Linked DNA regions of Homo sapiens: region 1 is linked to region 2. Evidence: promoter capture Hi-C in 16 types of primary human blood cells and fetal thymus (Javierre and others, 2016). All regions are on one chromosome and are shown on one strand. Each heading gives the region's core, a stretch centred on a gene start or on the middle of the fragment in contact. The rest is flanking DNA. Distances are from core to core; before and after follow the strand shown.

Region 1 (3,591 bases), core at 605-3,104, 530 kb after region 2:
TTATTGAATATGTATATTTGGCCACCCTACTCAGCATAAATTCTTGTCTTATTCTTCCCATCCTTGACCCTTGAAGTGCCTGTTTCTGGCTTCTGGCCAGAGGCTACACTTCCCAGCCTGTCAGAACGGCTGGCAGGCTGCAATGCTCTATGAGAAATAAAGCACTCCTTTCCAAATGTCTGAACCTCTTCATTCTTCAGTTGACATATACATATATCAAAACTTCAAGTTGTACACCTTAAACATATACAATTTTTATTTGTCAATTATTCCTCAGTAAAGCTGGGAGAAAAAAGGTTCACATGGTAAGCTTATGTGGTGTCTAATTTTCCACAATAAAAAAAATAAAATCATCCCACAATGTCAAAGGAAAGGAGGAAGTCATAAAAGAATATATGTAGTATAATTCCTCTTGTAGGAATTTTGAAAACATACAAACACACTATATTCAAAAAGAATGCTTCCGCAAAGAGTAAAACTATAAAGAAAAACAAGGAAAACTTCACCATAAGTGAAGATCATAATTGTATGTAGGGAGAAAGGAGGGGCTGATGGGGAAGGGATATACAGAGAGATCCTGGGGTGCAGATAATGTTTTCCTTCCCTCCCTCCCTCCCTCCCTCCCTTCCTTCCTTCCTCCCTCCCTCCCTTCCTTCCTCCCTCCCTTCCTTCCTTCCTCTCTCCCTCCCTCCCTTCCTTCCTCCCTCCCTTCCTCCCTCCCTTCCTTCCTTCCTCTCGCTCTCTTTCTAAACAGGGTCTCACTCTGTCACCCAGGCTGCAGTGCAGTAGCATTATCATAGCTCACTACAACTTTGATGTTCTGTTTCTTGATCTGTCTGATAATGAAAATATTCATTTTTTAAAAATTTTAATTTATTTTTTATTTTTGAGAAGGGATCTTACCATGTTGCCCATGCTGGACTTGATCTTCTGGGCTCAAGTGACCGTCCCGCCTCAGCCTCCCTAGTAGCCGAGACTACAGGTGTGTGCCACCATGCACTGCTTGCAACTCAGTGAAGTAATTTTTACTGAGGGGCAAACTGCAGTTCATATAGGGCACCTTTGGGATGGCCTCAGTCCCCTTCTAAAGGTGGATAAATCATCAGTTGGTTGTAACGTGTTCCTGATGGAACCCATGCCAAGAAGATGAAGGCCCTGGTCACTCTTGGCCCAGGAGGCTGCCCTCTATCTGCCATGTACGGAGCTGGGCACACGGGAGGTCTTGATCCTGCTTCCTTGAGGGGGCAGATGGTGACCCAGTAAATGACTGGAGAAGCCCTCCAATGTCTGTGCTTCCCCACTGGAAATCCCTCCCCTGTCCCTTTTCTGACCTTGTCAGTTCTCAACCTCAGCCAGACTCCTCTAGGGAGAGAGTTAGAAAGGGAGTGCCTGACTTCCTGCCAGCCCTGCCTGAACCCAGGTTTATCTCTTTGGCTTGAAGCCATCTGTCAGGAAACAGATCCCTCTCCTTTTCGGAGTTACCTGTATGTCAGCCTCAGTATGCACTTAAAGATCTTCCATGGGTGAGGGGAGGAAAGGAATAAGGTCGTTTGTGAGTATTTTTTTTTTTCCTGGGACACTGGTCCTTTCAACCATCCCATCAAGTAAGATGGTAGATCTTTTAATCTTTATATTTCATGGATGACAGCCATGGAGGTTATGTGGCTTACACAAGGTCAACAACAGAGTGAGGACGGGACAAAAGGTCTGTCTCACTCCAAAGCACGTGGCCATCAGATCCTTTCTGGAAGCCACTGGGGCAGAGATCATGGGGTTCAAAATGACAAGAGCACATTCCTAACTCAGGAAAGACATTTGAGGGAGAATGCCCCTTTATCCCATCTTGGAAAGGACTAGGGGCTTGGCTGGGGGTTAGCAAGTGCAGAGAAATGAAGCCTTTCTGGCCTGGAGGGTCCAGACGTGTCAGTAGCCAGTGCTCCAACCCCATTGGTGCTGCTCTAGGGGATGGGCCCTGTGGATGCCCAGAAGGAATGGGAAGAACCAGGAAGGATTAAAAGGACATGATCGGTGGCTACTTGGGTAATTGGCTCTATTCCCGAGAATTTAGAGGAAAGAATCCTCGGCTTTACGAGAAAACACTAGGACAAGGCTATCAGAGCCACTTAGGCTCTGGAACACACTACGCTTAGCAGGGGCTGCAAATGTCCGGGAGACGCTTCCTAACAACTTTGTAAGATGCAAGTAACCGATCTTTAGTGGAAACAACTGGTACCTTGCGGCACACGGCACAGGCGCTGAAACACACAATTACAGGGCACGAGCTCCCCCTTGTGGCCATTCAGGGTGATAGCAGCCCTGAACTCAGGCATCTGGGGGAATTCCTTCCTCTGAACACTGGGAACCGATGGAGCACACACAATGTGTTGGGCCCTGGCTAAGCCATTTACATCCCACCTTCACAACAGCTCCTTTTCACCGGCGCTTGCCTTCCACTCTCCACTGTCAGGTGCTAGCTGAAGCTAGCTTACTTCCTCCCAGACGTCCCGCTGACCCCAGCCCCTGGGTCAAGTGCTTTGCACTTCTACAAAGGTTGGCTGTCTCTCCAGCACGTGTTGCACTTTAGTCTGATGAGTTTATTTAATTGTCTTCACCTATGGACCCTCGTTTCTTCAGGCAGCTTGGCTCTCCTTTACATACCTAGCAGAGAGAAGGGGCTGAATGAATGTTTGTCAAATGAATAAATGATGAATGAGAGAGCATTCCTGCATGCAGAGCTTGGTTACAGGGGCACCTAAATGAATAGCCCAGAGCATGCATTGCCCAAGGCTACACTCACTTTAGAGAGAATGTCTGCAAAGATCACTAACCTCACAATCACAAGCAGTTTCCCTTGGAAAATACCAAATGACTACAGGTTATATTCCTTCATATTTCTGCCCTTCCCTTACTGGTAAGATATAGAGAGAGTGGAAACATGGGGGAATTCTGTGCCCTGTGTGGTGAATTTTATGACATAACTGTCTGGAGTCCCTGCAGGTCTTGGGTGTGGTCACTGAAGTCAGGAAAGAGGGTCCATTGGATAACATCACCCAGCAAGTGAACCCTGAGAGGGTGTGTGAACCTGCTGGCTGACTTGGGGCCAACGTCAGTGGGGTCAGGGGTCACACTGTCTGTCTCTCAGTGTGTTACCTTCTGTGAGGTTTTAATGAGTGACCTTGGCCTCTCCCAGCCAGAGGTTTCTCCCCATTCATCATCTGGTGGAGATGGCAGCAGTACCAACAAAACTCCAGCTCCCCAAGTGCTACAGAAGCAACTTCTGCATCCTCTCAGGGCGCTGGGAAGACGTCCAGCAGTCATCGTTACAGAGGAAGATGGATGTGGCAGGGCTGGGATGGCAGTCCAAGTCTGCAGTTCCAAATGTGTGCTCTTAAGCTTTTTTGAATAAATAATATATTCATGCAATTCAAAATTCAAGCCATTCAAAACAGTAATGAGTAAGCCTTCCTTCCACCCCCTCTCTTAGGCACCCTATTTTCCTCCCAGAAAATGCCGTCATTTTCTTGGGTGTCCCTGCAGAGATATTCTATACAAACAGACATACATATTCTCCCCCCACCAACATACCAACAC
Region 2 (3,592 bases), core at 82-2,581:
GAAAGTAAGGCAGAGGCATTATCTCCACTACAGATTGAGAACACTAAAAGGCCAAGATAGGTGGGGCTTTTTGTTGTTGTTTTGCTAAGATCAAAAAGTAATTCTAGGGCAAAGCCAGATTCCGGTCTGACCTTGTTACATGATGCTTCTTGCAGCACCATAATACAATGTAGTTGCTTCCCTAGGTTTCTCTTTGGCTATGCTAGGTGTTGAATAATTTTCAGGGTCAATTTTTATTCTTCCCTGCTCCCTGAAAATGAGTGTTAAGATGTAGATAAGTACAAAAGAAAACTCTCCAATCCTTCCTACCTGGATTTGGAGTACAGGATAAACAGACAGAAATTGGCATCTTCCTCCCCTCCTCCAAGTTTTACTGCCTAGCCCAATGCTAATAGAAAAATAACCCGAGCCACAAATGCAAGTCCCATGTATAATTTTAAATTTTCTAGTAGTTACATTAAAATATATTGTATTTAGCCCAATACAGCGTATCCAAAATATTAACACTTCAACACGTAATCAATATAAAATTATTAATGAGATATTTTGCATTCTTTTTTTTGTATGGCTTCAAAATCTGGTGTGCATTTCTCACTTATAGCTCATTTCAATTTGTATTAGCCACATTTCAAATGCTCAGCAGCCACATGTGACGAGGGAGGACACTGTTGGACAGCACAGGTCTAGACCTCAGTAGCTCTCCCTTCAGATTAATGCCATGTGAATCGAATGGGTGGTATGAAGAATGGATGCTGAGTCCTTGGAGAATCCACTTGCACTTGGGTGGTGACTGATAAGAAGCCCTAGCTGTGCCATTTCCTGATACATGACTGTTTTTGAAGTTATGGACTCAGGATCTAGAAGACTGCAAATCCCCAAATACGTCTAACACCCAAGCTCACGCCAGGACCGTGCTTCCGGGCCTGTGTGAGAACCTAAGCTATGGAACCTGTCAACTTCTAGGGCTGCAGATTCGTTGGGCCCTCACATGTGGCCCGTGGAAAGGAGGCATCACTCGAGGAAGAGGAGGGCTTCTAGAGGGGCAAGGCCACCCAACTAGGGGCTTCTTGAGGGCAGGTGCTCCAAATGGCCGCTTCCTGAGGGCAGCGGGTCCTCTTGTGGCCTCAGGCAGGGCCCTGAAACCGGCCTCACGTGTTTGCAGCGCGAACTCCTGTGCTTCCACCAAGCGCTCTCGGGGATGCGGGGGTGGTGTCAGCGCCCCGGCCCCAGCCCGCACCCCGAAGTGGCTCCAAGGCTGCAGGTGTGAGGGGCGTGCCCAGGGCTCGGCCCGCGCCGCCCCATGTGACCCGGTCCGACATGGTGTCGCCTCCTCCCGGGGCGGCGGCGGTGGCGGCTCGGGCTGGGCTCCGCGTCGGGCCGGCCCCGCGGCCGCTCATGGGCAGCCAGGGCCGCTCGGGGCCCCCCGGGAACGGCGGGCCCGGCGAGGGCGAGGGCGGAGAGGCGAGGAAGCTGCAGGAAGGGAGGGTGGCGAGGGGGAAGCGAAGGAAGGGGAAGGGGAAGGGAAAAGCGAGAGCGGGGCAAGGCGGAAGAGGAAGCGGGGCGGAAGGGAAGCCCGGGCCGCAGACGGCGAAGGAGGCAGCCGGGCCGGGGGCTGACGCGGGAGCGAGGGCATGCCCAAGGGAGGAAGCAGAGGGAGGCAGAAGCGTGGAGGAAGGGGCGAGAGGCATCGTCAAGGGAGTCGAGGGGAGCGCAGGGGCCGGGAAGGAGGCACAAGGAAGAGAGTATGGGAAGAAGGAGGAATGGAGGGTCAGGGCTAGGCGGCGGGAGGGCGCCAGGCCGGGAAGAGCACAGGGACGAGGGGGTCAGGCTTGGGCCGACATCGCGGGGACAGGGGTGGCCATGGCGGCGGCGGCCGGGGAGGAGGAGGAGGAGGAGGAGGCGGCTCGGGAGTCGGCTGCCCGCCCGGCCGCGGGGCCTGCGCTCTGGCGCCTGCCGGAGGAGCTGCTGCTGCTCATCTGCTCCTACCTGGACATGCGGGCCCTCGGCCGCCTGGCCCAGGTGTGCCGCTGGCTGCGGCGCTTCACCAGCTGCGATCTGCTCTGGCGCCGGATAGCCCGGGCCTCGCTCAACTCCGGCTTCACGCGGCTCGGCACCGACCTGTAAGCGTCCGCTCGCCCGCCCGCTCCCCGCCCCGAGCCGGCCCCGCGTCCCGGGAAAGGGCGGGGCGCCGCGGCCTGGTCGGCCCAGGGTCGTGTCGCACCCCGAGTTTCTAGGCCTACACCTGACCTCCGCCTACACCCTTTCCCGAGCACTCTCGGGGACCCCTTTGCCCCTCCTCCCCAAGGCCTCCATCTGAGGCAGCCTCCCGAGAGCATCCCTCAGTAGGCACCCTCCCGGGTGGGCCGCTCCTCACAATTAGCCATCTTAGGCACTCCCTACAGCTTTCGATTGTGTGTTTTTGCAGAGGTTTAGCTGCCCCGGTTCCTTCGCCCCAGAGGAGCCAGTCTGGTACGGTGCTTTGGACGATTCCTTGAGTCCAGGTCTAGGACTCAGGTTCCTTAAGTGGTCTATCATAAATTTTTGTGGACTTTCATCTTTCATCCTCCCTACCCTTTTCTAAAGGTTGTTAAGCTTCAGGGCTCGGACCTTAAGAGAAGCCCTCGGTCCCAGTGTTCAGCCATAGTTTATGACTTCATATAGGCAGAGCGACACGAAAAAGGGGGCCTGCTTGAGGCAGGAGGCTGGAGTCTGTCCAGGATGTGTACAAGACATGGTATTGCAATTTGGCCTGTTTTTGGTAGGGTCTGAGACCTGTGAATGAAAAACTTTTCTGAACCACTTAAACTGTTAAATAGGAAGGAAAAAACATGTAGGGAATTGGGGGAATAAGAGCTTTCAGATTGCCCCCTATTCCACCCATTTTTTAAAAAGTAGTTCTTTCTAGTACATTATGACAACATTAAATAACGTTTTTAAAAACATAAAAAGCCATAATACCATCACCTCTAGACAATTATTTTCATTTAAAAACCTTTTCAGTTGCACATATAATTGCTATCTTACTGATCCTAACAGAATAGGTACATAGTAAATGTTTGTGGGCTGTCGCATAATGAGATTAAAGAACATCCCTCTACTATTAAACTTACATGTAGTGTTCAGCTTTTTGTTATTATAGATAATAATGAAATAATGCATTTTTGAGTAACAGCTTTACTGAAATATAAGTCACATGTCATTACCATACATATTTTTTAAAAATCAGTTCCTTAGGATAAAGTCTCAAGGTGGCATTATAGCAAAGGTTATGGTTTGCAGAGGTGCTGTACCAAATTATAGTGGGACCAGCACAGAGTGAACAAATTTTATGTGAGAATTTAGAAAATCTTTGCCACTTTAGTGGTCATTTAAGGTACCAAAGTTGTGTTATTTTGCATCTCTTTTACCACTGGCTGGGATAAATATATTCCCATGTGTTTGTTTCACCTGGGAGACTGTCTCTTCCCACTCTTTGCCCATTTATTACTGGGGTCTTCTTGTTTTTCCTATAAATTTGGAATCTTTGTGGGTCTTAGATGTTAGAATCTAGTCTGTCATCTTTGATCCAGATATTTTTCCCAGTCAATTCATT

Evidence for each region. The method cuts DNA at HindIII sites, captures the fragments that hold promoters and counts their contacts. A CHiCAGO score of 5 or more calls a contact.
Region 1: a contact is called between a fragment that was not itself captured here and the fragment with the promoter of FBXW4 in region 2, in 1 of 17 cell types (endothelial precursors). The highest score is 6.3, in endothelial precursors.

What each region holds. Positions count from the first base shown.
Region 1 is chr10:101,160,624-101,164,214 of GRCh38, reverse strand. No RefSeq gene overlaps it. Among named protein-coding and RNA genes, the nearest start is that of LINC01514, 14 kb to the left of the region's middle. The HindIII fragment of the contact is 3,083 bases long and covers 313-3,395 here.
Region 2 is chr10:101,692,909-101,696,500 of GRCh38, reverse strand. It overlaps FBXW4 (F-box and WD repeat domain containing 4), which reads left to right and starts at 1,331. Exons shown (of 9, transcript NM_022039.4): 1 at 1,331-2,120. The coding sequence starts at 1,396. RefSeq lists silencers at 1,162-1,441, 1,472-1,521, 1,802-2,261 and an enhancer at 2,572-2,651. The HindIII fragment of the contact is 5,074 bases long and covers 1-2,594 here.